Linked DNA regions of Homo sapiens: all the other regions are linked to region 1. The links are contacts of gene promoters, found by promoter capture Hi-C in blood cells and fetal thymus (Javierre and others, 2016). All regions are on one chromosome and are shown on one strand. Each heading gives the region's core, a stretch centred on a gene start or on the middle of the fragment in contact. The rest is flanking DNA. Distances are from core to core; before and after follow the strand shown.

What was found. Contacts are between HindIII fragments. The CHiCAGO score rates a contact against its expected background, and 5 or more counts as called.
Region 2: a contact is called between the fragment with the promoter of KASH5 here and the fragment with the promoter of NTF4 in region 1, in 1 of 17 cell types (erythroblasts). The highest score is 5.7, in erythroblasts.
Region 3: a contact is called between a fragment that was not itself captured here and the fragment with the promoter of NTF4 in region 1, in 1 of 17 cell types (endothelial precursors). The highest score is 6.0, in endothelial precursors.
Region 4: the fragment with the promoter of FUT1 here is called in contact with the fragment with the promoter of NTF4 in region 1 in 1 of 17 cell types (neutrophils); the score reaches 5.3 in neutrophils.

The regions. Positions count from the first base shown.
Region 1 is chr19:49,061,820-49,068,681 of GRCh38, reverse strand. NTF4 (neurotrophin 4) reads left to right here and starts at 3,864. Exons shown (of 2, transcript NM_006179.5): 1 at 3,864-4,943; 2 at 6,673-6,862. The coding sequence starts at 6,685. KCNA7 (potassium voltage-gated channel subfamily A member 7) reads left to right here. Exons shown (of 2, transcript NM_031886.3): 2 at 1-1,285. The HindIII fragment of the contact is 7,079 bases long and covers 1,535-6,862 here.
Region 2 is chr19:49,384,322-49,391,996 of GRCh38, reverse strand. KASH5 (KASH domain containing 5) reads right to left here and starts at 3,748. Exons shown (of 20, transcript NM_144688.5): 1 at 3,670-3,748; 2 at 1,071-1,208. The coding sequence starts at 1,113. LOC101928295 (a long non-coding RNA gene) reads left to right here and starts at 3,916. Exons shown (of 3, transcript NR_110729.1): 1 at 3,916-4,641. The HindIII fragment of the contact is 10,613 bases long and covers 1-7,675 here.
Region 3 is chr19:49,321,938-49,329,594 of GRCh38, reverse strand. It overlaps SLC6A16 (solute carrier family 6 member 16), which reads left to right and starts at 4,404. Exons shown (of 12, transcript NM_014037.3): 1 at 4,404-4,547. RefSeq lists a silencer at 2,146-2,297 and an enhancer at 3,091-3,240. The HindIII fragment of the contact is 1,121 bases long and covers 5,191-6,311 here.
Region 4 is chr19:48,748,439-48,756,065 of GRCh38, reverse strand. It overlaps FUT1 (fucosyltransferase 1 (H blood group)), which reads left to right and starts at 3,425. Exons shown (of 2, transcript NM_001384359.1): 1 at 3,425-3,576; 2 at 4,783-7,627. The coding sequence starts at 4,785. The coding sequence ends at 5,882. FGF21 (fibroblast growth factor 21) reads right to left here and starts at 542. Exons shown (of 4, transcript NM_019113.4): 1 at 282-542; 2 at 1-175. RefSeq lists enhancers at 1-454, 455-1,320, 2,637-3,223, 4,429-5,068, cis regulatory regions at 575-583, 611-623, 258-818, promoters at 1-629, 575-666, 98-704, 1-830, 1-939 and a silencer at 3,339-3,388. The HindIII fragment of the contact is 14,557 bases long and covers 1-5,968 here.

The DNA of each region.
Region 1 (6,862 bases), core at 2,615-5,114:
TGGCAGAGACGCAGAAGAGAGGAACAGAAATCCAGAGTGGGGAGACAGAGACCAAGAGCAGGGGATAGAAGCCGGGCGAAGTGGCCCATGCCTGTAATCTCAGCACTCTGGGAGACCGAGGAAGGGGGATTGATTGAGGCCAGGAGTTCAAGACCAGCCTGGGCAACATGGTGAGACCCCATCTCTACAAAAAATACAAAAATTAGCTGAGTGTGGTGGCACATGCCTGTGATCCCAGCTACTCAGGAAGCTGAGGCAGAAAGATCCCTTGACCCTGAGAGGTAGAGGCTGCATTGAGCCATGATTGCACCACTGCACTCCAGCCTGGGCAACAGAGGGAGCCCCCGTCTCAACAAACAAACAAAAAGAGCCAGTGGGGGAGGGAGGGACAGAGACCCAGAGGGCAGCGTCAGACACCCAGAGTTGGAGACAGAACAACAGAGTCTCAGGGAAAGAGAACCACAATAGAAAAAGGCAGAAAAGGCCGGGCGCGGTGGCTCATGCCTGTAACCCCAGCACTTTGGGAGGCCGAGGTGGGCAAATTACGAGGTCAGGAGATCCAGACCATCCTGGCTAACACGGTGAAACCCCGTCTCTACTAAAAATACAAAAAAATTAGCCGGGTGCGGTGGCGGGCACCTGTAGTCCCAGCTACTCGGGAGGCTGAGGCAGGAGAATGGCATGAACCTGGGAGGCGGAGCTTGCAGTGAGCCGAGATTGCGCCACTGCACTCCAGCCTGGGCAGCAGAGCAACACTCTGTCTCAAAAAAAAAAAGAAAAGAAAAGAAAAAGCCAGAAAAAGTTGGTGCCCCTGAACCCAAGAGTGATGTACAGTCTATTCCATAGAATCACAGAACAATCCTGAACCAGGCCTGTCACCTACCCTCCCTGCAGCTCAGGAAGGCTGTCAGACAGGCTGGGGGCCTCACTCTGTTTTCCAGGGGAGAAACCTGAGTCTCAGAGCAGGGGAGTGGCTTCCCAAGGTCTCACAGCTTGTCCCCAGGGGCCAGGCAGGCTGTCTGTCTGCTTCACATGTCCCCATCAGCCTGCTGGGACACACGGGTCCTCCTGAGTCCCGTAGCCTCATTTCTTACAGACGGGGAAACTGAGGCTCAGAGCAGCAGGTGTTACCCAAGGTCACAAGGCCGAACATTTTCAGAAATCTTTCAGAACTCAAAGGGCATTTAGAGGAAGAAGGCTGAAATCACTAACACATATAGGGCTTCCTTTGGTATCAAAGTACTTTACTTGGGTTAATTTATTAAAACCTATCCAGTGGTTTACAGACTGTTGTTGTTATTTTTAGCCATACCCACCCCTTTTTTGGGTCAAATAAATCTTCCTTAGAGACACCAGTGGGAAGCATGGGAAGGGAACTGGTTGGAGGAGAACACGCCTCCTCTTGGCAACTCAAAATGCAGCTCAGGAATTCAGTGTGGAAACCCCTGGTTTCATCTGAGCACCTTTTCATACAGCTAAAGAGAAGGTACAGATGGTGAGAGGAGTTTGATAATGGTTGAAATTAATAGAAGCTTTAGGTAGTCACTTCTCTCTGAAATGGAGAGAAAGCCAGATTTAGGGACAGAATGGAGACGGACCTCACAGTGACAAGAGACAGGTTGGACTCCAGCACAGAGACCTAAAGAGGAGACACAGACAGGAACTGAGGCCAGGAGGGAGGAGAGGCACAGAGCAAAAGAGAGAAATCCAAGGGCAAGGGGGAAGAGGGCAGATGGCCGGGAGCGGGAACAGAGACCCCCACGAGGGGAAAGAGAAGCAGACAGTGACCCCAAGAGAGAGGATGCAAGAGGCTCAGCAAGAAGGAGACTGGGACCCAGAGAGGGTGGACAGATATCCAGAGAGAAGAAAACTGGGACCTAGAAAGAGGGGGACAGAGACCCAGAGAGAAGGGGGGACAGAGACCTGGGGGGGAACAGAGACCCAGAGAGAGGGGGGACAGAGATCCAGAGACAGAGAGAGAGACAGAGACCCAGAGAGTGAAGGGGACAGAGACCCAGAGAGAGAGGGGGACAGAGACCCAGAGAGAGAGGGACAGAGACCCACAGACAGAAGGGGACAGAGACCCAGAGAGAGAGGGGGACAGAGACCCAGAGAGAGAGGGACAGAGACCCAGAGAGAGAGGGGGACAGAGACTCAGAGAGAGAAGGACAGACCCAGAGTTGGAGGGAGACAGAAATCCAGAGGGAGGGGAACAGAGACCTGGAGATAGGGGGACAGAGACTGTTTCCCAGTCACTCTGTTTGGAAACCTCATCCCTACTATCCCCTCCAGGACTAGAAGCTAGAAGCTAGAAGCTAGAGTCCTCCTGCTATGCGGCAGGATGTATTGGCTGTTTAGGAACAGGGGAAGGGTGGAGAAGCCGGAGAGGTGACCTGAATGCACACCCAAAGCCTGGGAAGTGGCCCTTCCCCCCACCCCCAATAAATAACTGGAGCGGCCTTGTGTGTTGCCTTGGCTGGGATGGTGAGGAGCAGGAAACACCCTAACCGGGGACACCCTCCTGCCACCTTGCCATGCTATATTTAGGCTGAGGGGGTGTGGGATGACCCTCGAGGCAGGTGTCAGTTTTCCTTCTGAAAATAGCGCAGGCGGAGGGGAGCGGAGTCTCAGGGTAGAGGTGTGGTGGGGTGAGGAGCCCCGCTGCCCTCATGACTGTCCTGAGACACTCCGGCTCCGGTCCCATCCCTGTCTTTCTCAGGGTCTCTCAGGGGCTCTGTCCCCTTCTCGGGGGGGTGGGGGGGTCTGCCCTCACGCTCTCTGGGCCTCTGTCTTCTCTCTGGGCTCCTGCCCTCCCCCACTCTCTCTAGTCTCGGTCCCCCTCTTTCTTTTGGTCTCTCCCCACTTTTCCATGTCTTCTCCCTATCTCTCCCTTCATGTCACCGCGCACCATTTCTCAAGGTAGCTGATTGTTCTTAAGACACATCTGTCTATCTCTGGTCCTATGATACCTTGCACGTCTCTTATCTGAGCTCAGGACAAGACCTTCTCCCCGGTCCCCAGCCAGGAAATTCCAGGGGAGAGGAGTATGCGGGAGCCCCCACATCCACTGTCTCCCCGGGCCTGGGGCCTTATCACTGCCCAAGCCCAGCTGGTTAATGTCTGGCGTGGAGCTCCTGGGAAGTGGGGAGGAGAGCAGAGGGTGGGAATCTGCCCCGGGATTGACACGCAATTGGCAAAAGACGGCAAAGGAATCTCAGGCCCAGACTCCTGGGGCTAATGGAGGAGGAGGCTGGGGGCTGGACTCCTGAGTCTGAGACGGGGCGGGGTTGGGAGGTGGTGGGGGGAACTGTGGGCTTAGTACTCAGGCGCCTGGGGCTGGGGGGAGAGGTGGCTGGGGTCGCAAGTCCTGGGTCTGAGGGAGGAGGGGCCGGATGCCTGGACTCCTGGGTCTGAAGGGAGGAGGGGCTGGGGGCCTGGACTGCTAGGTCCAAAGGAGGAGGCAGCTGGAAACTGGGACTCCTGTGACCAAGGCGGCCGCGTTGAACGAGCCAGGCCTGGCTTCCAAGGTCCCGGCACGCGAGTGCAAGGCAGGATCCCCCGGCCCCTCCTCTGCCGCCCGGCGCCGCCCCGCCCCCGCCCCCGACCCGGGCCCTGCGGAGCGTGAGCAGCTAGCACCCGGCGGGCCAGCGAGCGTCCCTGCAGCCAGCGAGCAGGAGGAGGAGCTGCTGCCGGGCGGAGGGCAGCCGCGGGAGCCGAAGAGGGCGCCCCAGGTAAGATCTCCACTCCTCCTCCCTCGGGATTCCGGCGTCCTGGTCGCCCTGCCCTCGGGTGGGGAGGGACGGGGGCGGGGCCGACCGGGGCGGGGCTTGGCGGAGGAAACTGAGGCAAGAGGGAAGTGTCCCAGATATGCAGCCGGTTTCCCCTGAGGGGTCTCGGAGTCCGGAACCCCCAACCCAAATCTGGAGGATGAGGAACCCGGAGTCTGCATTTCTTAGTATCCGAGAAGGAGGGGCCTGAATTCCAGAACTCCTGGGTCTGAGAGAGGAGGGCACTGGGGGCCTGGATTCCTGGGTCTGAGGGAGAAGGGCGCTGGGGGCATGGACTCCTGGGTCTGAAGGAGGAGGGCGCTGGGGACCTGGACTCCAGGGTCTGAGGGAGAAGGGTGCTGGGGGCCTGGGCCTGGACTCCTCCTGGGTCTGAGGGAGAAGGGTGCTGGGGGCCTGGACTTCTGGGTCTGAGAGAGGAGGGCGCTGGGGGCCTGGACTACTCCTGGGTCTGAGGGAGGAGGGCGCTGGGGATCTGAACTCCTGGGTCTGAAGGTGGAGGCCCTGGGGTCTGCACTACTCGGTCTGAGGGAGAAGGCGGTCCTGGTTGGGTCAGCCTGGGCTCCTTTCACTCTCCACCCTTCCCCTTTCCTGTACCGAGGAGCCAGGGCAGGCAGCCACTCCAGGTATGTGCAGAAGTCTTGGGCGGGCCCTGGCCTGTCCTGTGAGGAGGGAACATTCCAGGAAGCAGCTTGGGGAACCAGGGCTTCTTGAGTGTGGGCCCTCAGGGACCCGGGTGTCCAGGCCAGTTCCGCCCCATCTGGGAGATGAATGGGCCGAGGGGGATGTAATCTCTTCCAGCCTCCTTCATCCACTGCCTCTCCCTTCCCCTATTCTCCCTTCCCCTCCCTCCATCTGCTTCCCATCCCAGCCAGGAGCCATCACCTGGGTAGAAAAGGGGCCTCTGGAAAGGGGGCGGGGCCTTGACTCTTGGGTACCCTGCACTTGAAGAGGAACTCTGGGAAGGGGTTGTTCAGGGATTTGGCCCCTTCCCCACCTGCCTCTATAACCTGTCTATTCTTTTCTTCCCCTAGGTGGTTGCCCCCTCCCTCTCCTGAGATGTCAGGAAGGAGGGGGCCACCTGTGTCCTCCACAGGGGCCCCCCGAAGCCTGGGGACTCCCAGCCCCAGAGCTCCGAGGCGGAGGAGGTGCTGACAGGTCTGGTAACTACTGACTGTTTCCCAGTCTTCTCCACGCCACCCTTTCCCAGAACCACAGGCTTCCAGAATGTTGTAGGGAAACTGCAAAATCCGCGCCTCCACCAGCCTCTCCCAGCGCCAGGTCAATTTCACACACAGGGAAACTGAAGCCTGCCTCAGAGGGGCAGCGTTTTACCTCCTTAGTGGCAGTTTTGAGGTGAACTGGGGTCTCCCTAGGATTCCAGGTTGTGACCTTTCTCTAAATTGTGGAATGTGGCCAGGCGTGGTGGCTTGAGTCTGTAGTCCCAGCTACTCAGGAGGCTGAGGCAGGAGAATGCCATGAACTTGGGAGGCGGAGCTTGCAGTGAGCCAAGATCGTGCCACTGCACTCCAGCCTGGGCGACAGAGGGAGATTCCATCTCAAAAAAAAAAAAAAAAAAATTTTGTTTGGGACCAGGCATGGTGGCTTATGCTTGTAATCCCAGCACTTTGGGAGGCCAGGACACGACTATTGCTTGAGGTTGGGAGTTCAAGACCAGTCTGGCCAACATGGTGAAACCCCATCTCTATTAAAAATACAAAAATTAGCTGGGCACAGTGGCAGGTGCTTGTAATCCCACCTACTCAGAAGGCTGAGGCAGGAGAATCACTTGAACCCAGGAGGCAGACATTGCAGTGAGCCAGGATTGTGCCACTGTACTCCAGCCTGGCCAACAGAGTGAGATTCTGTCTCAAAAAAAAAAAATTGTTTGGAACATCCTCCAAGATGCAAGACTGTCGGTTCCTCAGAGTTGCACAGGAAGGACGGCAGAGTGCAGTTGCCCAGAGGTGAAGTCCCATCTCTGCCATTTGCTGGCTGTGTGACCGGGCACAAATCATTAACTTCTCTGAGCCTGTATTTCAACATCTGTTACTGTTAAGTAATAGTAGTTGAATTATTTTTATTTTTATTTTATTATTATTATTGTTTTTTAAGACGGAGTTTCGCTCTTGTTGCCCAGGCTGGAGTGCAATGGTTCAATCTCAGCCCACCACAACCTCCACCTCCTGGGTTCAAGTGATTGCCCTGCCTCAGCCTCCCAAGTAACTGGGATTACAGACATGCGCCACCACACCCGGGTAATTCTGTATTTTTAGTAGAGAAGGGGTTTCACCATGTTGACCAAGCTGGTCTGGAACTCCTCACCTCAGGTGAGCCGCCCATCTCGGCCTCCCAAAGTGCCGGGATTACAGGTGTGAGCCACCATGCCTGGCCTTATTTTTACTTTTGAGACAGAGTCTCACTCTTGTCGCCCAGGTGGCAGGGGAGTGGTGCACTCTCTGCTCACTGCAACCTCGGCCTCCTGGGTTCAAGTGATTCTCCTGCCTCAGCCTACTGAGTAGCTGGGATTACAGGCGTGCAGCACTATGCCCGGTTAATTTTGGTATTTTTGGTAGAGATGAGGTTTCACCATGTTGGCCAGGCTGCTCTGGAACTCCTGACCTCAAGTCATCCACCTGCCTCAGCCTCCCAGAGTGCTGGGATTAGAGGTGTGGGGCACAGTGCCTGGCCTGTAGTAGTTGAATATTTATTATTAATCTACAAGTTGCGCATTACGCAAGCCCTAGATATAGGGTCCCCCAAACTTCTAGAACAAGGGCTTCCCCACAATCCTGGCAGGCAAGCCTCCCCTGGGGTTCCCAACTTCTTTCCCCACTGAAGTTTTTACCCCCTTCTCTAATCCCAGCCTCCCTCTTTCTGTCTCCAGGTGCTCCGAGAGATGCTCCCTCTCCCCTCATGCTCCCTCCCCATCCTCCTCCTTTTCCTCCTCCCCAGTGTGCCAATTGAGTCCCAACCCCCACCCTCAACATTGCCCCCTTTTCTGGCCCCTGAGTGGGACCTTCTCTCCCCCCGAGTAGTCCTGTCTAGGGGTGCCCCTGCTGGGCCCCCTCTGCTCT
Region 2 (7,675 bases), core at 2,499-4,998, 320 kb before region 1:
TACCTCTGACCCTCCTATCTGGAAAGCCTCCTGAGGTCTGGGGCTTTGTAGAAAAAGACGCAGGCTGTGCCGTGGATGCCTGGGAGCCTCTAAGAAAGGGGCCCTACCATCCCCATCAGACTGGGCTCTCTCACTTGGCAGATGAGTTTCAGAGAGGCAACCCCAGTGCCTCCTCCCCACCCTCTGAAGCCAGCTTTCACACCCGTTCAACCTACATCCGTCCGTTCACTCAACAGTAAGTGAGCTCCCACAGTGAGTCAGGAGTTGCTCTGGGGTCCCAGCCAACAGGGCAGTCTCTCCTTCTGGAGCACCTGAACTGAGGCGAGTGTAGACTGAAATGCTCTGTTAGTGTAAAGTACACGCTAGATCTTTAGGGCTTAGTATGAAAAAAACAGATTATCTGGATACATTTTTTATATTGGCTATATATTGGCTATATACATATATATATCTCTATGTATGTATATCCTGTATACATATATAATATACAGGGTATTAGTCTGGCTATATAAGGAAAATCCATTATCAACATTCATTTCACCTGTTCCTTTTTTCTTTTAAAAAATAATAAATTACCTATGTGGCTCATATTATACTTCCACAGGACAGCGCTGCTCTAGGGACTGGGAATACCAGAGTGAATAAAACAGACGCTGCCTTGTGGAGCTCATGCTCTAGCAGGGGAGACAGAGACAAAACATGACATACAGATGTGAGCACTGTGAAGAGAAATGAAGCGGGGCAGGGGAGAGAGTGTCACAGGGCAGCTGCTTTACATAAAGTAAGAAGTGCCATCTGGGCCGCGATCTGAATGGAGTAAGGGGTGCGGCTGCTTGCGCTCTCACACAGTCCAGCCTCCCCACAGGAGATAAGGGGTAGTGACAGGTGGGCGGGCATAGAGTAGGCACTTAATCTACCAGAGTCCCTTCCCTCCCTTCCACTCTGCACCCATGCAAAGGCTCAGCCACCCCCAGCCACCTCTCCCAAGTCCCCGAGTCACAGCCTGGCACCCATTCACCCATGGCTCCCTCCTCACCCTCCCCGGGGCAAATAGGGTTCCAGCCACTTACTTTCCGCAGTGGGGCCACCCACCGGGCCCTCGGGCAGGTCCATGGGCCACCCCTGCCGCGGCGCAGCTGCTGGCAAAGCTACCAGCCTCCCTCCTTCATGGGGAGGGATGGGAAAAGGACCAGCTGGCCCGAGCACTCCTGGAAGGAGAAGCAGGAAATGGTGTCCTCAGAGCAGCCACCAAGGGTCGGGGCCTGCCTAGCCCCACCTGTGCCCCAGGACCTCTGGGTCCTCACAACCTGTTTGTCACCCCCGCTGTGACCTGAGCAGCTCCGCTCTGACCTGTTTTATGGATTGGAGGTGTGGGCTGGAGAACGAGGTGGCTGACATCAAAGGGGCTAGTGGGTGGGTGGGGGAGGTCACTGCCTCCCTTTCTTCACATGGCTTGCCGCCGGTCCAGGCTGCCTGGTCCTCTTCCCTGGCCTTTGTCCCAGCCTCCTATCCCCAGGCTTGTCCTCCAGTCTGTCCCCACAGGGCCCCAGAGCTGACCTGCCCCTCCCCTGCTAAGTACCCTTCCATGGCTCCCTGAATCCTGGGTACGGGTGAGACCCTGGCCCTGACGCCAAGGCCCTGCATGGCTGACCGCCCACCTCAGCACCCCAAATCGCACATGATGCTCCAGCCACTCTGAGCTGCGGACCGCTCCCATGCCCAGGTCTCTGCCTGGGACGCCCTCCTGCATCCTGCTTCGGCTTCACGTGGCCTCTTCCGGGAAGCGAGGGGCCGTGTCTGGCTCCCACACAGCCCTGGGCAGCTGCCATTCTTGCCACATCAGCCTGGATTTGGCCGGCTGGCTTCTCATGGGAGTTTGATCCTGACTTGCCCCTGCTCCTGATCCTCCCATGGCTCCCTAATGCCCCCGGACTAAGTTCCAGTCCCTCAGGCTAGAGTGGCATTGAGTAGTCTCTGAAGCTCCTGCCTCTTCCTGTCCCTTTTCTCTCCGTCGGGCAACCCCTAGGTCTCTCCTCATCATGGCCCCAAACCTGCTGCTCCCCTGGGTTCCAACTCAGGATGTACATGGTCCCCCAAGCCCAGGCCACCTCCTCCTCATCCCTGCCAGCCCCACTTGCAGCTGCTCTGGGCAGTCCCTGCAGCAGTGACAGGAGTTTGGGGGGCCCCATCCTGCCTCCATTCCACCCAGGCCGACCCAAAACCTTAGTGGCCGCACTCTGGGGGCTAGAGAGAGACCTGGGCGCTGCTATCATCACAGCGGGCACGGGCGCCCCTTGGGGCCACCAGTCGAGCCTGGGCTCGCCTGTCCTCACCCAGCTCCCCCAGTGCCTGCTCTCCCCAAGCCACGTGAGCCCGCTGCCACCGTTCTGGAAACACGGGTCTTTGAAGAGAGGCCCTTCCAGGGTCTGGAACACCCTGCAGGGTGCAAAGGGGGGCGATGGCCTTGGCTGGGCCCTGGCGCACGGAGTGGGTTCGGGATGGAGTCCTGAGGGACCCCGGGGGTGTTGGTTGATCTCGGGGGTCTGACGGGACTGAGACGGGGACACTGAAGCAGGATGGGGCCCTGGCAGGAGCTCTGGGTGGTGTGGGCCTTGGCGGGCTTTCAAGGGCTCTGACAGGATTTTGGGGGGGTCTCTGACTGGATTTCTGGGGAGTGTCTGGCTGGATTTTGGAGATTTTGATTTCTGTGGGGGTCTCTGACTGGATTTCAGGGGTCTCTGGCTGGATTTCGGGGGTCTTGATTTCTGCGGGGGTCTGATTGGATTTCTGGGGGTTCTCTGACTGGATTTTGGGGGTCTTGATTTATTCGGGGTCTCTGGATTTTGGGGGTCTTGATTTATGCGGGGGTCTCTGGATTTCTGGGGGTCTCTGGCTGGATTTTGGGGGTCTTGATTTCTGCAGGGGTCTGACTGGATTTCTGGGGGTCTCTGGCTGGATTTGGAGGGTCTTGATTTCTGCGGGGGTCTCTGAGTGCATTTCGGGGTCTCCGTTTCTGGGGTGTCTTTGATGGACTTCTGTGCTCTCTGACGGAATCTGAGGTCCGACTGGGTTTGGGAGGGGACCTGCCAGGATTTCTGGGGATCTCTGACACGAGTCTAGGTGGCTCTGCTGATCTGGGGAGAGTAATAGGATTTTGGGGAAAGTTTCTGGCAGGCTCTGAGGGAGAAGTCTGACAATTTCTAGACGATTCTGACAGGATTTCGGGGGTCAACTATAAGATTTCCTGGTGGACTCCTTTCAGTATATCTGAGGGGATGTGGTCAGGATTTTTTTTTTTTTTTTTGAGACGGAGTCTCACTCTTGTCACCCAGGCTGGAGTGCAGTGGCGCGATCTCAGCTCACTGCAACCTCTGCCTTCCAGGTTCAAGCAGTTCTCCTGCCCCAGCCTCCTGAGTAGCTGGGATTATAGGCGCGTGCCACTACGCCTGGCTAATTTTTTGTATTTTTAGTAGAGACGGGGTTTCACTTCCCCGGGATGGTCTCTATCTTCTGACCTCGTGATCCGCCCGCCTCGGCCTCCCAAGTGGTCAGGATCTGGGGGGCCCTGACGCAGGGGTATCTCTCCCACAATATGGGGGGGCTTCGCTAGGATTTCGGTAGGGGCTGGGAAGGGCCATTCTGGGAACCTCGCCGCGGGGCAGGGCGCACCTGGAGCCACGTCCTAGTCTCGGGACACAACGGACATCCACGAACGACGAACGGCAGTTGAGTTGGGGGAGGTGCGCGTGAGCTTTTCCCGCCAGAAAAAGCAAAAGGAGGCGAGGGGTCGCGAGTGCGCGTGCGCAGCGTCTGAGCCCCGCCCCTCCCCGCCCGGACTCCTCTTAAGACGCAGGTGCAAACCGGCGGCCGACGCGTGTCACGCATGCGCGCTGGCGGTGTGGGCTGTGGCCACGGAGTTTGTCTGGTGGTGGAAGGAGGGGGTGGCTGCGCCCGCCATGCTGGGGCTCGTGTTTTTCTCTTCCGCTTCAGGCTTTGGTGAAATGGGCTGAGGAAGGGGGAATTGAACTGAGAGACTCCTTGTCCGTCCCCCATTTCTTTCTTTTTTTTTTTTTTTTGAGATGGAGTCTCGCTCTGTCGCCCAGGCTGGAGTGCAGTGGGACAATTTTAGCTCACTGCAACCTCCGCCTCCCGGGTTCAAGCAATTCTCCTGCCTCAGCCTCCCGAGTAGCTGGGATTACATGCGCCCGCCACCACACCTGGCTAATTTTTGTATTTTTAGTAGAGACGGGGTTTCACCACGTTGGCCAGGCCGGTACCGAACTCCCAACCTCAGGCGATCCACCCGCCTCGGCCTCCCAAAGTGCTGGGATTACAGGCGTGAGACACAGCGCCTGGCCTGTCCTTTTTATGTATTGCCATATTTTCTTTTCTTTTCTTTTCTGTGAGATCCCTGTTGAGTTTTGTTAACAAGGCTATGCTGATATAATGTGTGGAGAAGTGTTCTCTCTTTTTCTATTCTTTGAAAGTGCTAGTGTAGGATTGATGTTATTTATTTTTTATGTGTTTGGAAGAAGTCACCAGCCATCTGGACCTAGAGTTTTCTTTGTGGAAAGACTTTAAATTACAAATTCTATTTCTTTTATAAAAATACAACTATTCAGATGTTCTATTTTATTTCTGGTAAGTTGTGGTTTTGGTAAGTTGTGGTTTTCAAGGAATTTTTCCATTTTATCTAAAATTTCAAATAATTTGCATAAAGTTCATAATATTGTCTTTTTTTGGAGGGGGAGAAACACGGTCTTATGTTAGGCTGGTCTCGAACTCCTGCCCTCAAATGATCCTCCTACCTTGGCCTCCCAAAGTGCTGGGGTTACTGGCATGAGCCACCATGCCCAATCTTTTTAATATCTGTAAGATCTGTGGTGACGGATATTAATAATTTGTGCCATCTCTCTTTTCCCCCCTCCCTTCCCCTCTGCTCCTCTCCTCCCCTTCCCCCACTCCCCTCCCCTCATCTCCCCTCCCCCGTACCTTCCCCTCCCCTCCCGCCTCCCTTCCCTTCTGCTCCTGTCCTCCCCTTCCCCCACTCCCCTCCCCTCATCTCCCCTCCCCCGTACCTTCCCCTCCCCTCCCCCTCTCTTCCCCTCTGCTCCTCTCCTCCCCCCACTTTCCTCCCCTCATCTCCCCTCCCACCTCCCTTCCCCTCCCCCTCCCTTTATCTCCCCTCCCTTCCCCTCCCTTCCCCCTCCCTTCCCCTCCCTTCCCCTCCCTTCCCCTCCCTTCCCCTCCGCGTCCACTGCCTCCCCTCCTCCCTCCCCTTCCTCCCCTCCCCTCCCCCCTCCTCTCTTTCTGAGACAGGTTCTCACCCAGGATAGAGTGCAGTAATGTGACCCTAGCTCACTGCAGCCTCCACCTCCTGGGCTCAAGTAATCCTCCCACCTCAGCCTCCTGAGTAGGTGGGACTACAGCCATGTGCCCTCAAGCCCCTGATCTTGCTGTTTTTTTTTTTGTTTTTTTGTTTTTTTTTTTTGAGACGGAGTCTCGCTCTGTCGCCCAGGCTGGAGTGCAGTGGGGCGATCTCGGCTCACTGCAAGCTCCGCCTCCCGGGTTCACGCCATTCTCCTGCCTCAGCCTCCCGAGTAGCTGGGACTACAGGCACCCGCTACCACGCCCGGCTAATTTTTTGTATTTTTAGTAGAGACGGGGTTTCACCGTGTTAGCCAGGATGGTCTCGATCTCCTGACCTCGTGATCCGCCCGCCTCGGCCTCCCAAAGTGCTGGGATTACAGGCGTGAGCCACCGCGCCCGGCATGATCTGCTGTTCTTTTTCCAGCTTTTTCCCCCCAACTTCTTGAGGTGAATGCTTAGGTCACTGATATTTTTAGGTTATTAAGCCATTGATTTTTTTTTTGAGACGGAGTTTCACTGTCACCCAGGCTGGAGTGCAGTGGTGCGGTCTTGGCTCACTGCAACCTGTGCCTCCCGAGTTCAAGCGATTCTCCTGCCTCAACCTACTGAGTAGCTGGGATTACAGGCGTGCCCCACCATGCCTGGCTAATTTTTTGTATTTTTAGTAGAGTCGGGGTTTCACCATGTTGGCCAGACTGGTCTTGAACTCCTGACCTCGGGTGAGCCGCCTGCCTTGGCCTCCTAAAGTGCTGGGATTAGAGGCGTGAGCCACCGTGCTGATGCCAGGTCATGTGCCCAGCCAGGTCATTTGATTTTTAAAGATCTCTTCTAATACATGCGTTTAGAGCCATCATTTGCCTTCTAAAAACTTCTGTAGCTACACTTGACACATTTGTTATGCCACATTTCTATTATTATTATTATTTTTTGAGACAGAGTCTCGATCTGTCACCCAGGCTGGAGTGCAATGGCACAATCTTGGCTCGCTGCAATCTCTGCCTCCTGGGTTCAAATGATTCTCCTGCCTCAGCCTCCCGAGTAGCTGGGATTACAGGCATGCACCACCACACCTGGCTAATTTTTGTATCTTTAGTAGAGATGGGGGTTTCTCCATGTTGGCTAGGCTGGTCTCGAACTCCCGACCTCAAGTGATCTGCCTGCCTCAGCCTCCCAGAGTGCTGGGATTATTGGCATGAGCCACCATGCCTGGCCACGTTTCCATTATTATCAATTCAAAATATTTTCTAATTTGACCTGAGTGATAATTTTTAGAGATATATTGCTTACTTTCCAAATATTTTATGACTTCCCTGCTATCTTTTTATTATTTATTTATTTTTGAGACGGAGTCTCGCTTTGTCGCCAGGTTGGGTGCAGTGGCGTGATCTGGGCTCACTACAACCTCTGCCTCCTGGATTCAAGTGATTCTCCTGCCTCAGCCTCCTGAGTAGATGGGACTACAGGCACGCACCACCACAGCCAACTTTTTTTTTTTTTTTGTATTTTTAGTAGAGACGGGGTTTCACCATGTTGGCCAGGATGATCTCGATCTCTTGACCTTGTGATTCCTCTGCCTCAGCCTCCCAAAGTGCTGAGATTACAGGCGTGAGCCACTGCGCCCGGCCCCCTGCTATCTTTTTATTATTGCTTCCTACTTAATTCACTGTAGTCAGAAAACATACAAACATACTCTATATGATTTCATTTCTTTGACATTTGTTGAGATTTGCTTTATAGTCCACGATTTCATCTATTTTAGCAAATGCTTCATGTGTATTTGAAAAGAGTAGCTTGGCGTGGTGGCTCATACCTGTAATCCCAGCACTTTGGAAGGCCAAGTTGGGTGGATCACCTGAGGTCAGGAGTTCAAGACCAGCCTGGCCAACATGGTGAAAGCCCGTTTATACTAAAAATACAAAATTAGCCAGATGTGGTGGCATGTGCCTGTAATCCCAGCTACTCAGGAGGCTGAGGCAGGAGAATTGCTTGAACCCAGGAGGTGGAGGGTACAGTGAGCTGAGATCGCGCCACTGCACTACAGCCTGGGCCAGACAGAGCGAGACTTCATCTCAAAAAAAAAAAAAGAAAAAAAAAAGGCCAGGTGTGGTGGCTCACGCCTGTAATCCCAGCACTTTGGGAGGCTGAGGCAGGCGGATCACCTGAGGTTGGGAGTTTGAGACCATCCTGGCCAACATGGTGAAACCCCATCTCTACTAAAAATAAAAAAAAATTAGTCAGGCATGGTGGTACACGCCTGTCTTCCCAGCTACTCAGGAGGCTGAGGCAGGAGAATTGCTTGAACCTG
Region 3 (7,657 bases), core at 4,502-7,001, 260 kb before region 1:
AGTATCCTACTATCAAACTCCTAGCCTCAAGCAATCCTCCCACCTCGCCCTTGCAAAGTGCTGGGACTACAGGTGCAAGCCACCGCTCCCGGCTGAGTCATTCTTGATTCCTCTCTTTCTCTCAGACCCCAAACCTAATCACCATTAGTTTTCTAATGCTCTGTAACAAATTACCCCAAATTTAGCAGTTTAAAACAATAAACATTTCTTAGGCCAGGAGCGGTGGCTCACTGTAATCCCAGCACTTTGGGAGGCTGAGGCAGGCAGATTACGAGGTCAGGAGTTCGAGACCAGCCTGACCAACATAGTGAAACCCCGTCTCTACTAAAAATACAAAAATTAGCTGGATGTGGTCCCACCTGTAGTCCCAGCTACTCGGGAGGCTGAGGCAGGAGAATTGCTTGAACCTGGGAGGCGGAGGTTGTGGTGAGCTGAGATCGCACCACTGCACTGCAGCCTGGGCAACAGAGCAGGACTCTATCTCAAAAAAAAAACACAATAAACATTTCTTACCTACTGTAGTTTTTGTGGGTCAGGAATCTGGGAGCAGCTTAGTTGGATGATTTCTGCTCACAGTGTTTTATGAGGTTGCAGTCAAGATGTTGGCTGGGGCTGTAGTCATCTGGAGATTTAACTACGGCTGGAGGATCCACTTCACCATGGTTCACTCACCTGGTGCTGGTTGCTGGCAGGAAATTTCAGCTCTTCTCTTATATGGATCTCTTCACAGATTGCTTGAGTGTCCTCACCGTATGGTGACTGGCTTCCTTTACAGAAATCAGTTGAAGGGAATGGGCAAGTAAGAAACAGCAATGCTTTTTATGACCTAGTCCTGAAGTTCCCCACCATTACTTATGTTCATTGGAAGCCAGTTGCTAAGGAGAGCCTGCACTCAAAGATTGGGGAAATAGACTTTATCTTTCAAAGTGTTGAAGAATTTGCAGACGTATTTTAAAACCACCACACAATCCATCAACACATCATGTCGGCTCTATTCTTGAAATAGATCCAGAATTTGACCACTTTTCACCATCTCCATTGCTATTACCCAGATCTAATCAACACCATCACTTGCCTGGACTAGAGATTTCCTCCTCACTGGGCTCTCTGCTTCTATCTTTAGCCCATTGCTATGATTTGGCTGTGTCCCCACCCAAAATCTCATCTTGAATTATAATCTTCATAATCCCCATGTGTCAAAGGAGAGACCAGGTGGAGGTAACTGAATCATGGGGGTGGTTTCCCCAGGCTGTTTTTGTGATAGTGAGTGAGTTCTCATGAGATCTGATGGTTTTATAAGGGGCTCTTCCCTCCTTTGCTTGTGAAGAAGGTGCCTTTTTTCCCCTTTGCCTTCTGCCATGATTGTAAGTTTCCTGAGGCCTCCCCAGCCAAGCTGAACTGTGAGTCAATTAAACCTCTTTTCTTCGTAAATTACCCAGTCTTGAGCAGTTCTTTACAGCAGTGTGAAAACAGAGGAATACACCCATACATGCTATTCTCTGCCCAGAAGCCAGGGGGAGCCTGCCATTAAAATGAAAGTCACTCCTTGACTCAGAACCCTCAAATAGCTTTCATCTCACCCAGAAAAAAAAGAAAAAAATTCCGACCATGACCTATAAGGGCCTCCAAATAATACTCTGGCCCCTGCCACTGCTCTGATCTGATCTGTTGCTACCCTTTCCTCAATCACTGGGATCCATTCATATCAGACTCTTTGCCATTTCCAGAACCCATCAAGTGTACTTCTTGCCTCAAGGCTTTTGCTGTTGCCATTTTCTTTGCCTGGAATGTTCTTCCCTATGCTGTTCACAAGGCTCCCTTCCTTCAGCTCTCTGCTGAAATATCACTTTCCCCAAGAGTCCTTCTTGACTACCCTGTCTAAAGTAACTCCCTATCAGCACTCTTACTCTCTGAAATTCTTTCTATTTAGGCATTTACTTTCTTTGTGCAACTGGAACGTAAAATCTTTTTCATAACTATATCCCAGGGGTCTAGGACAGTGTGGGGCACATCATTCAATAAATATTTATTGACCGACTGAGACTTTTCCTGGTGCCTTGAACACACAGTTTGCCCTGCCTCAGGGCCTTTGCACAGCCTCAAGGCTTGAGATGTTCACACACATTTTTCACCTAGCAAATAATCCTTTAAGCCTCAACTCCAGTGTTATTTCCTTAGAGAAATCCTCCTTCTAAATTAGGTCTATGGGCCGGGCGCAGTGGCTCACGCCTGTAATCCCAGCACTTTGGGAGGCTGAGGCGGGCGGATCACCTGAGGTCAGGAGTTCAAGACCAGCCTGGCCAACATGGCAGGCTGACTCTACTAAACCCTGACTCTACTAAAAATATGAAAATTAACCAGGCGTAATGGCAGGCACCTGCAACCCCAGCTACTCGGAAGGCTGAGGCAGGGAGAATTGCTTGAACCCGGGAGGCAGAGGTTGCAGTGAGCCGAGATTATGCCACTGCACTTCAGCCTGGGTGACAAAGTGAGATTGTCTCAAAAAAAAAAAAAATTCGATAGAAATAAATAGGTCTGTGGCCCTTTTCTGTCGCAGCACTTTTTTTTTTTTCCTTGAGACAGGGTCTTACCCCATCACCCAGGCTGGAGTGTAGTAGTGTGATCTTGGCTTACTGCAACTTCTGCCTCATGGTTTTAAGTGATTCTTGTGCCTCAGCCACCCGAGTAGCTGGGATTACAGGCGTGCACCACCACACCTGGCTCGTTTTTGTATTTTTAGTAGAGATGGGGTTTCACCATGTTGGCCAGGCTGGTCTTGAACTCCTGGCCTCATGTGATCCGCCCACCTTGGCCTCCCAAAGTGCTGGGATTACAGGCGTGAGCCACCATGCCCGGCCTGTCATAGCACTTAATACAATTTATAATCATGTAATTATTTGAGATTCATCATATATCTGTTTTCTTGTTGTGTGAAGCAAAACGAGGGCAGGAATGGGGTCTGTTTTGTTCTCTACACTATTCCCAGTTCCTAGCATTTAGTAGACTCTCGATAAATACGTGTTGAAAGATTGAATGATTCCCAAAGATTGTGATGAATTCTTACAGCACCCCCAAAATTTCCTCTTCATCTCTTTGTTCAATCATAACAATTTAAGCCTTTCATTCTCAAAGTGTGGCTCAGGGACTCCTGGGGGCTCTTGAAACACTTTTGGGGGTCCATGAGGTGAACATTATTTTCATAATACTACTAAGATATTATTTGCCTTTCACTTTCATTTCCTCTTTGAATATAGTGATGTTTGCCAGAAGCTACAAGACATGAGCTATTTTGACACACTCAGTGCAGAAGCAGATATGAGAATCCAGCTGTCTTCTATGAAGCCAGACATTAGAGAGATTTGCAAAAATGTAAAATGATGCCATTCTTCTCCCCAAATTTTTTCTTTTTTTTCCTTTTTTTTTTTGAGACGGAGTCTTGCTCTGTTGTCTAGGCTGGAGTGCAGTGGCAAAATCTCGGCTCATTGCAACCTCTGCCTCCTGGGTTCCAACGATTCTCCTGCCTCAGGCTCCCGAGTAGCTGGGATTACAGGTGTGTGCCACCACGCCCGGCTAATTTTTTTTTTTTTTGACTTTTAGTAGAGACGGGGTTTCATCATGTTGGCCAAGCTAGTCTCGAACTCCTGACCTCGTGATCCACCCGCCTTGGCCTCCCAAAGTGCTGGGATTACAGGCGTCAGCCACCGCGCCCAGCGCCAAAATTTCTTTTGGAGTAGAAATTATAGTTATTTTAAATAAAAATGTTATTTTGACACATAATGAATTTTTAAACAATGACTATTTTAGAAATTTATTTTAATATTGATAGATACAACTCACATAAACATACAACCCATATAAATGTAACTCATAAATTATTGGAGTCCTTAATAATTCTTAAGAGACCGGAAAGTATGAGAACGGATGACCTAAGTAAATCTTTGAGTTTTTAATTCTTGTCTGCAGCCCTAGTAGGCTTCTGAGCTCTCTTAAGGCAACGTCCCTGTCTGCCTTGTTGGACGCATATTTAAGGTTTGGTTTCTAGTAGGCGATCTTTAAGTAAATGCGAAAGGTTTGAAGGCTAGAAGGAATGAATGAGACGATTCTCCCACTTCCTACCCTCTTCTTCCTTACATGAAGTGGAAGCAAAGTGCATGTGCCAGAGAAAGGCCTTGTCTTAGAGCCCCGCCTGAAGCGTGGCATCGTGGGTGTCGGGGTGGGGTGCGGTGGGGAAGGGAGTGGCGCGTGAGCAGTCAGAGGATGTGCACACGTGCGTGCGTGTGGGGAGAGAGCAGGGAGTTGGGGAGGGCGAAGTGGTTACAGTGTTTGCTACAGCTGTAGGGAAAGAGTGAGGGGGCGCGGCGGCGCATGCGCAGAGAATCGGCGGGAAAGGCCGCGCGCCAGGCAGATCGAGGGGTGTCGCCCAAACCGATCTGTCGACGCCTGAAGGGGCCTGAGGAGATTGCTAGGCTTCTCAGCTGGGGCTTCTTCACCCTCATTTTTGTCCGACTGGCTGGACTGAAGAACCTGGCAGAAGCCTTGGGGCTAGGGTGAGGGTCACGGCCCAGGGAGCCCTAAAATGTTCCCACATCTGGGGTGTGTGGGGCTGGGCGCCATTTTCGAGGCCCGGGCCCACTGGGCTCCACTGACGGGTGACAGGTGACTGGCTGGGAGCCTCCTGGTTGCCCTGGGCTCTGTGGAGCTGAGGGATCAAAGGGGTCCCTCCTTTACCCCCCACGTAGGACAGAGGAAACTGTCTTCGGCTCTCCTCACTCATCCAGTCCGAGTTTGAGCCAATTCCTTGACAGGATTCGGCCATCAGTCCCTGCCTTTGGGGAAAGCCATCAGTGTCAAGTGCCCGAGTGGCAGAAACCCGGGTCTAGCCCCATCACTGGTCTGTTAGGGCAGTTATTTTCTGCTTTTTGCAGAAATGGGACACCAGCTCCTTATTTTCCTTTTCTGGAGGTTATAGTTCCAGGGAAGGAGGTAATGTGAGGGGAATGGGCATTTCTGGGGGATCCTGAGCACTCCCCACAGGGCATGAGCCTAGGAGTTGCTTGGGATGACGGTGTAGGGGCACCATGGAGGGTTGCACCCATATGGGAAGAGGAGTCCGCCTGGGGCTCAAGGGGCTTTATGGATGTTGGAAGTGGCCAGCTGGCCAAAACTCAGTTCTCTCCCTTCCGTAAAGCTTGCTTTTAAGGACAACTGTTCTAGAATGTGTTTAAGAAACATGAATCTATTATTTTTTATTTATTTATTTATTTGAGATGGAGTCCCACTCTGTCACCCAGGCTGGAGTGCAGTGGCACGATCTCAGCTCACTGCAACCTCTGCTTCCCAGGTTCAAGCGATTCTCCTGCCTCAGCCTCCCAAGTAGCTGGGACTATAGGCGTGCGCCACCACCCCCAGCTAATTTTTTGTATTTTTAGTAGAAACGGGGTTTCACTGTGTTGGCCTGGCTGGTCTCGAGCTCCTGACCTCAGCCGATCCACCCGCCTCAGCTTCCTAAAGTGCTGAGATTACAGGTGTGAACCCCCGTGCCCAGCCTATTATTATTATTTTTAAGAGACAGGGTCTCTCTCTGTCTCCCAGGCTGGAGTCCAGTGGCATGATCACCTCTCACTACAGCCTCGAACTTCTGGGCTCAAGCAATCCTTCCACCTCAGCCTTTCAAAGAGCTGGGATTACAGGCTGAGCCACTGGAGGCTTGGTTTTCACTTATTTTGGGTGTATACCCAGAAGTGGAATTGCTGGATCATATGGTAATTCTATTTTTAAGTTTTTGAGGAACCACCATAGTGTTTTCCATGGTGGTTGCACCATTTTACATTCTGACCAGCAAGGCACAAGGATTCCAATTTCTCCACATCCTCACCAACACTTCTTATTTTCTGCCTTTTTATATTAGCCATCCTAATGGATGCGAGGTATTATCTCATTGTAGTTTTCATTTGCATTTCCTTAATGATTAGTGACGTTGAACATCTTTTCATGTACTTCTTGGAGATTGGTATATCTTCCTTGGAGAAATGTCTATTTAAGTCTTTTGCCCATTTTTGAATTGTGTTGTTTGTTTCTTTGTTGTTGAGTTTTACGAGTTCTCTATATATTCTGAATATTAATCTCTTATTATACATATGATTTTCAGATATTTCCTCCCATTCTGTGGGTTATCTTTTCACCCCTTTGATAGTGTCTCTTGATGCACAAATTTAAAACATTTTAATGAAATCCTGTTTGTTTCTTCTTTTGTTGCTTTTGCCTTTGGTATCATATCCAAGAATTCATTGCAGATCCACTATCATGAAGCTTTTGTCGTATGTTTTATTCTAAGAATTTTATAATTTTAAGTGTTACATTTAGGTCTTTGATTTATTTTGTGTATTTGTATGTGGTGTTAGGTAAGAGTCCATCTTTACTCTTTTGCCTGTACATAATCCAGTTTTCCCAGCACCATTTGTTGAAAAGACTGTCCTTTACTCATTGAGTAGTCTTGGCACCCTTGTAAAAAATCATTTTTCCATACATTGTTTCTGGGCCCTCTATTCTGTTCCCTTGGTCTGTATCTTTATGTGAGTAACACACTATTTTGATTACTATAGCTTTGTAATATGTTTTGAAATCAGGAAATGTGAGTACACCAGCGTTTTTCTTCTTTTTCAAGATTATTTTGGCTGTTCAGGGTCCCTTGAGATTTCATGTTAGTTTTAGGACGTGTTTTTCTATTTCTGCAAAAAAAAAAAAAAAAAAAAAAAAAAAAAAAAAAAAAAAAAAAAAGCTACTAATTCTGTAGATTGCTTTGGGTAATACTGACATCTTAACAGTGTTGTCTTCCAACCCATGAACATGGGATATTTTTCCATTTATTTATGTCTCCTTTAATTTTTTTCAGCAATGTTTTGTAGTTTTCTTTGTACATGTCTTTCACCTTCTTGGTTAATTCTTTTTTTTTTTTTTTTTGAGATGGAGTTTCACTCTTGTTGCCCAGGTTGGAGTGCAATGGTGCAATCTCGGCTCACTGCAACCTCTGCCTCCCAGGTTCAAGTGATTCTCCTGCCTCAGCCTCCTGAGTAGCTGGGATTACAGGCATGTGCCACCATGCCTGGGTAACTTGGTAATGGAAACGGGTTTTCTCCATGTTCGTCAGGCTGGTCTCGAACTCCTGACCTCAGGTGATCTGCCCACTTTGGCCTCCCAAAGTGCTGGGATTACAGGCTTGAGCCACCGTGCCCAGCCAAGTTAATTCTTAAGTATTTTATTCTTTCTGATGCTATTACAAATGGAATTGTTTTCATAATTTTCTTTTCAGATTGTTCATTGTTAGTGTATAAAAATGCAACTGAGTTTTGATTGTTGACTTTGTATCCTGCTACTTTGCTGAATTCATTTATTAGCTCAAAAATTTTTTTGGTGAAAATTTTAGGATTTTCTACGTATAAGATCATATAATCTTTCTAGTTTGGTTTCCTTTTATTTATTTATATTTTTGCCTAATTTCTCTGGCTAGGACTTCCAGTACTATGTTGAATAAAAGTGGCAAAATTAGACATTCTACGCTTGTTTCTAATCTTAGAGGAAAAGCTTACAGTCTTTTATCATTAAGTATGACATTTGCTGTGAGTTTTTCGTATATGGCTATTATGTTGGGATATTTTCC
Region 4 (7,627 bases), core at 2,176-4,675, 310 kb after region 1:
AGATGCAGAAGCTCCAGAATTTATACCCAGACAGGCCCGCCCAATCACCCTCCCTGCGCCTGAACCATGATATTTGACCCATTTGGCAGGAGCTACAGAATTCCATCGTGGCAAGGGCAGCCTGAATGGATGATGTAACCTGGGGTCCTTTCAATGGAGGGCCAGACTCCTGGGTCTAGGGGATGAGGGAGGGGAGGATCGGGTTAGCTGGGACCCAGGTGAAAGGGGCTGGGGGCCCACATTCCTGAGTCTCAGAGAGAAGGATCTGGGGTCTCAAGCACCTGAGTCGGAGGGAGGAGGGGTGCTGGGCTCCTGGAAAAACCACCTCTTGGACCATCTATGCAGATCACGCAGAACAAGAGAAATTTCTGCGCCCCATCTGAATTTCTAAGTTTGGGGGGAGGGCGTGATCTGACACTGAGGTTCCTTGATCCTCAGCAAGGCGGCAATTGCTGTATGAAAGAAGCGACCGCATCTGAGACACAAGTATCCTGCCTTGGAAGCCTCTCACCTGGCCGTGGGCCAACCTCAACCTCATCTGTCCCTGCTCAGATGCTCAGACCCTGGACATCCCAGCCTCCTCCTCCCTGATGCAATCCTGGTGTTTCTTTCACCAGAGAAGCCATCCCAGGCCCAGGCAGGTGCTCCTGAAATAACCTGGGGGGAGGGGTGGCTGAAAGTCCCTGACTGGAGTTGGCAGCCAAGCCAGGCCCTGGAGTGGGCACCCAGAGGGAAGACAGGTTGGCTAATTTCCTGGAGCCCCTAAGGGTGCAAGGGTAGGCCTTCTGTGTCTGAGGGAGGAGGGCTGGGGCTCTGGACTCCTGGGTCTGAGGGAGGAGGGGTGGGGGGCCTGGACTCCTGGGTCTGAGGGAGGAGGGTCTGGGCCTGTACTCCTGGATCTGAGGGAGGAGGGGCTGGGGAACTTGGGCTCCTGGGTCTGAGGGAGGAGGGAGCTTTGGTCTGGACTCCTGGGTCTGAGGGAGTAGGGGCTAGGGATCTGGACTCGTGGGTGTGAGGAAGGAGGGGCTGGGGTCCTGGACTCCTGGGTCTGAGGAAGGAGGGGCAGGGGGCTTGGACTCCTGGGTCTGAGGAAGGAGGGGCCGGGAGCCTGGACTCCTAAGTCTGAGGGAGGAGGGTCTGGGGGCCTGGACTGCTGGGTGTGAGCAGAAGGGTCTGGGTGCTGGGAGTCCCGAGCCTGGGGAGATGATGGTTAAACTTCTGGGAATCAAGTCAAACTCCTGAGTCTTTGACATTGATGTATCTTGAATGGGAGGGTCAGTCTGTGGGGAAGGATTACCCAGGTGCCGAGGCAAGAGACTGAAGGCACAAACTGTTTCAGTATAATAAAGAAAATAGTTAGAATAAGAATAGTTATCATACAAATTAGATATAGAGATGATCATGGACAGTATCAATCATTAGTGTAAACATTATTAATCATTAGCTATTACTTTTATTCTTTGTTGTATAACTAATATAACCAGGAAACAACCGGTGGGTATAGGGTCAGGTACTGAAGGGACATTGTGAGAAGTGACCTAGAAGGCAAGAGGTGAGCCTTCTGTCACACCGGCATAAGGGCCTCTTGAGGGCTCCTTGGTCAAGCGGGAACGCCAGTGTCTGGGAAGGCACCCGTTACTCAGCAGACCACGAAAGGGAATCTCCTTTTCTTGGAGGAGTCAGGGAACACTCTGCTCCACCAGCTTCTTGTGGGAGGCTGGGTATTATCTAGGCCTGCCCGCAGTCATCCTGCTGTGCTGTGCTTCAATGGTCACGCTCCTTGTCCTCTTGCATTTTCCTCCCGTACTCCTGGTTCCTCTTTGAAGTTCGTAGTAGATAGCGGTAGAAGAAATAGTGAAAGCCTTTTTTTTTTTTTTTTTGAGGCGGAGTCTCGCTCTGTCCCCCAGGCTGGAGTGCAGTGGCGTGATCTCGGCTCACTGCAATCTCCGCCTCCTGGGTTCACACCATTCTCCTGCCTCACCCTCCCAAATAGCTAGGACTACAGGCGCCCTCCACCACGCGCCCGGATAATTTTTTGTATTTTTAGTAGAGACAGGGTTTCACCGTGTTAGCCAGGATGGCCTCCACCTCCTGACCTTGTGATCCGCCCGCCTCAGCCTCCCAAAGTGCTGGGATTACAGGCGTGAGCCACCGCGCCCGCCCGAAATAGTGAAAGTCTTAAAGTCTTTGATCTTTCTTATAAGTGCAGAGAAGAAAACGCTGACATATGCTGCCTTCTCTTTCTGCTTCGGCTGCCTAAAAGGGAAGGGCCCCCTGTCCCATGATCACGTGACTTGCTTGACCTTATCAGTCATTTGGACGACTCACCCTCCTTATCCTGCCCCCCCTTGTCTTGTATACAATAAATATCAGCGCGCCCAGCCATTCGGGGCCACTACCGGTCTCTGCGTCTTGATGGTAGTGGTCCCCCGGGCCCAGCTGTTTTCTCTTTATCTCTTTGTCTTGTGTCTTTATTTCTTACAATCTCTCCTCTCCTCACAGGGGAAGAACACCCACCCGCAAAGCCCCGTAGGGCTGGACCCTACGTTAGCCTGCCCTGCTCGGGGTTGGCGATGCTGGAGGTGGGCCTTGGACCAGAGAAAATGCTTTAATTAGGTGACAAGCGGGCAGAGGCCTTTGTCTCTGGCGCCGGCAGCCACGGCCCCCGCTGACGGCGTGGGAAACAGACCCTGTTCCACTCCGGTCTCCAGCCTTGGAATGGTTGCCTTCGTGCAGTGCAGGTCTGGAAAGTAGCAGTTTGGCACGGGACCCTAGAATTCCCCAAAAGGAGTGACTAGGGGCTGGGATTCTGGAATTTGAGTGTGGACGGTGAGGCGGGGGGTGTGGGAGATCGGAGACCCTGGTGGGCGCGGGAGCACCTGCAGGCTGGAGGCCCTCGCGCGCTCCGGCGGCAGCCTGGCAAACAGGTTCTCCATCCCCCAGGAGGACGCGGCAGAGGGCGGACGATCGCTCCACTCGCCGGGACCAGGTGCGGGGGCCCTGCCCAGCCGCTGGGGCGTGGCCAGGCTCGAAGCACCCAGGTGTCGGGGGCCGACTCTAAGCCCTGGCACCGGAAGAGAGAGGGCGGCGGATTGGACCTCCCGGCTCCAGCATTGCAACTGGGCGCTCCGTCTCCTGGTCCACGCAATGATGCTGCGGCTGCTCAGAAGCCAGGTAGCCTGCCCTGGGTGAAGCCTTCGCGCAGGTCAATGACGGGGCGGAGGGGCAGGGCGCGGTCCCCTGCATCCCCGATCTGGGGAGCGGTGGGCCCAGGGGCCATCGCCTTAGCCCCTGGCGCTGGGGCTCGGCGCCAAGTGACGGGCGGGGCTCCACCTTCCAGCCATCCGCCCGGCCCGGGAGGGCGGACGCTGCGAGACTCCCGGCCGCGCCCTCTCCTTCCTCTCCTCCCCAAGCCCTCGCTGCCAGTCCGGACAGGCTGCGCGGAGGGGAGGGCTGCCGGGCCGGATAGCCGGACGCCTGGCGTTCCAGGGGCGGCCGGATGTGGCCTGCCTTTGCGGAGGGTGCGCTCCGGCCACGAAAAGCGGACTGTGGATCTGCCACCTGCAAGCAGCTCGGGTAAGTGGGGACTGCCCCACTCAGTTGTTCCTGGGACCCAGGAACAACTCCTTCAGAACCAGGAGGTGCACCCCCAACCTCTTCTCCAGGTCTTCCTAAGGCCCTAGGAATCTCCGCCACCTCCCCAGCCATTACTCCTCCAGGAACCAAGATGCTCCTTCCGCTCCTGACCCTCCAGCCTCTCTTGTTTTACTTGAACTATCGTTTCCCATCACCACCTCTGTGGTGGATTTTGCGCCTCACAGACAGGTACTCCTGAGAAACAGGCTGGTGGAAGAGTCCAGTATCAGCGGAACTTACAGGAGGGGAGACTCGAGATTCCTTCAGGAAAGGTGTAGGAACCTGGACCACTTTCTTTTTTTTTTTTTTTTTTTTTTTTTAAGACAGGGTCCCTCTCTGTCGCGCAAGCTGGAGTGCAGTCAGCGGTGCTATCGCGGCTCATTGTGAGCTCCGGGGATCCTCCCGCCTTAGCATCCGGTGTAGCTGAGACCACAGACATGTGCCACCATGCCAAGCTAATTTTATTTATTTTTTTTTGGAGACGGAGTTTCACTCTTGTTGCCCAGGCTGGAGTGTAATGGCATGATCTCAGCTCACCGCAACTCCCGCCCCCCGGGTTCAGGCGATTCTCCTGCCTCAGCCTCCCGAGTGGCTGGGATTACAGGCATGCGCCACCATGCCCGGCTAATTTTGTATTTTAAGTAGAGACAGGGTTTCTCCACGTTGGTCAGGCTGGTCTCGAACTCCCAACCTCAGGTGATCCACCCACCTTGGCCTCCCAAAGTGCTGGGGTTACAGGTGTGAGCCACCGCGCCTGGCCCATGCCAAGCTAATTTTAAAATTTTTTTGTAAGAGTGCTCTGTTGCCCAGGCTGATCTTGAACTCCTGGGCTCAAGGGATCCTCCCATCTCAGCCTCCCAATATGCTGGGATTACAGGTGTGAGCCACAGTGCCCAGCCAAACCATGGCTATCTTGAAAACCACTTGTCTTCCAGTCCCCATGCCCCGAAATTCCAAGGCTCTCATCCCTGAAACCTAGGACTCAGGCTCTCCCTACCTCAGCCCCAGGAGTCTAAACCTTTAACTTCCTCTTTCCCTGGGACTAAGGAGTGCTGCACCCCAGGCGCCTCCCTTACCCCACATCCCTCCTCAGCCTCCCCTCCTCAGCCTCAGAGCATTTGCTAATTCGCCTTTCCTCCCCTGCAGCCATGTGGCTCCGGAGCCATCGTCAGCTCTGCCTGGCCTTCCTGCTAGTCTGTGTCCTCTCTGTAATCTTCTTCCTCCATATCCATCAAGACAGCTTTCCACATGGCCTAGGCCTGTCGATCCTGTGTCCAGACCGCCGCCTGGTGACACCCCCAGTGGCCATCTTCTGCCTGCCGGGTACTGCGATGGGCCCCAACGCCTCCTCTTCCTGTCCCCAGCACCCTGCTTCCCTCTCCGGCACCTGGACTGTCTACCCCAATGGCCGGTTTGGTAATCAGATGGGACAGTATGCCACGCTGCTGGCTCTGGCCCAGCTCAACGGCCGCCGGGCCTTTATCCTGCCTGCCATGCATGCCGCCCTGGCCCCGGTATTCCGCATCACCCTGCCCGTGCTGGCCCCAGAAGTGGACAGCCGCACGCCGTGGCGGGAGCTGCAGCTTCACGACTGGATGTCGGAGGAGTACGCGGACTTGAGAGATCCTTTCCTGAAGCTCTCTGGCTTCCCCTGCTCTTGGACTTTCTTCCACCATCTCCGGGAACAGATCCGCAGAGAGTTCACCCTGCACGACCACCTTCGGGAAGAGGCGCAGAGTGTGCTGGGTCAGCTCCGCCTGGGCCGCACAGGGGACCGCCCGCGCACCTTTGTCGGCGTCCACGTGCGCCGTGGGGACTATCTGCAGGTTATGCCTCAGCGCTGGAAGGGTGTGGTGGGCGACAGCGCCTACCTCCGGCAGGCCATGGACTGGTTCCGGGCACGGCACGAAGCCCCCGTTTTCGTGGTCACCAGCAACGGCATGGAGTGGTGTAAAGAAAACATCGACACCTCCCAGGGCGATGTGACGTTTGCTGGCGATGGACAGGAGGCTACACCGTGGAAAGACTTTGCCCTGCTCACACAGTGCAACCACACCATTATGACCATTGGCACCTTCGGCTTCTGGGCTGCCTACCTGGCTGGCGGAGACACTGTCTACCTGGCCAACTTCACCCTGCCAGACTCTGAGTTCCTGAAGATCTTTAAGCCGGAGGCGGCCTTCCTGCCCGAGTGGGTGGGCATTAATGCAGACTTGTCTCCACTCTGGACATTGGCTAAGCCTTGAGAGCCAGGGAGACTTTCTGAAGTAGCCTGATCTTTCTAGAGCCAGCAGTACGTGGCTTCAGAGGCCTGGCATCTTCTGGAGAAGCTTGTGGTGTTCCTGAAGCAAATGGGTGCCCGTATCCAGAGTGATTCTAGTTGGGAGAGTTGGAGAGAAGGGGGACGTTTCTGGAACTGTCTGAATATTCTAGAACTAGCAAAACATCTTTTCCTGATGGCTGGCAGGCAGTTCTAGAAGCCACAGTGCCCACCTGCTCTTCCCAGCCCATATCTACAGTACTTCCAGATGGCTGCCCCCAGGAATGGGGAACTCTCCCTCTGGTCTACTCTAGAAGAGGGGTTACTTCTCCCCTGGGTCCTCCAAAGACTGAAGGAGCATATGATTGCTCCAGAGCAAGCATTCACCAAGTCCCCTTCTGTGTTTCTGGAGTGATTCTAGAGGGAGACTTGTTCTAGAGAGGACCAGGTTTGATGCCTGTGAAGAACCCTGCAGGGCCCTTATGGACAGGATGGGGTTCTGGAAATCCAGATAACTAAGGTGAAGAATCTTTTTAGTTTTTTTTTTTTTTTTTTGGAGACAGGGTCTCGCTCTGTTGCCCAGGCTGGAGTGCAGTGGCGTGATCTTGGCTCACTGCAACTTCCGCCTCCTGTGTTCAAGCGATTCTCCTGTCTCAGCCTCCTGAGTAGATGGGACTACAGGCACAGGCCATTATGCCTGGCTAATTTTTGTATTTTTAGTAGAGACAGGGTTTCACCATGTTGGCCAGGATGGTCTCGATCTCCTGACCTTGTCATCCACCTGTCTTGGCCTCCCAAAGTGCTGGGATTACTGGCATGAGCCACTGTGCCCAGCCCGGATATTTTTTTTTTAATTATTTATTTATTTATTTATTTATTGAGACGGAGTCTTGCTCTGTAGCCCAGGCCAGAGTGCAGTGGCGCGATCTCAGCTCACTGCAAGCTCTGCCTCCCGGGTTCATGCCATTCTGCCTCAGCCTCCTGAGTAGCTGGGACTACAGGCGCCCGCCACCACGCCCGGCTAATTTTTTTTGTATTTTTAGTAGAGACGGGGTTTCATCGTGTTAACCAGGATGGTCTCGATCTCCTGACCTCGTGATCTGCCCACCTCGGCCTCCCACAGTGCTGGGATTACCGGCGTGAGCCACCATGCCTGGCCCGGATAATTTTTTTTAATTTTTGTAGAGACGAGGTCTTGTGATATTGCCCAGGCTGTTCTTCAACTCCTGGGCTCAAGCAGTCCTCCCACCTTGGCCTCCCAGAATGCTGGGTTTATAGATGTGAGCCAGCACACCGGGCCAAGTGAAGAATCTAATGAATGTGCAACCTAATTGTAGCATCTAATGAATGTTCCACCATTGCTGGAAAAATTGAGATGGAAAACAAACCATCTCTAGTTGGCCAGCGTCTTGCTCTGTTCACAGTCTCTGGAAAAGCTGGGGTAGTTGGTGAGCAGAGCGGGACTCTGTCCAACAAGCCCCACAGCCCCTCAAAGACTTTTTTTTGTTTGTTTTGAGCAGACAGGCTAAAATGTGAACGTGGGGTGAGGGATCACTGCCAAAATGGTACAGCTTCTGGAGCAGAACTTTCCAGGGATCCAGGGACACTTTTTTTTAAAGCTCATAAACTGCCAAGAGCTCCATATATTGGGTGTGAGTTCAGGTTGCCTCTCACAATGAAGGAAGTTGGTCTTTGTCTGCAGGTGGGCTGCTGAGGGTCTGGGATCTGTTT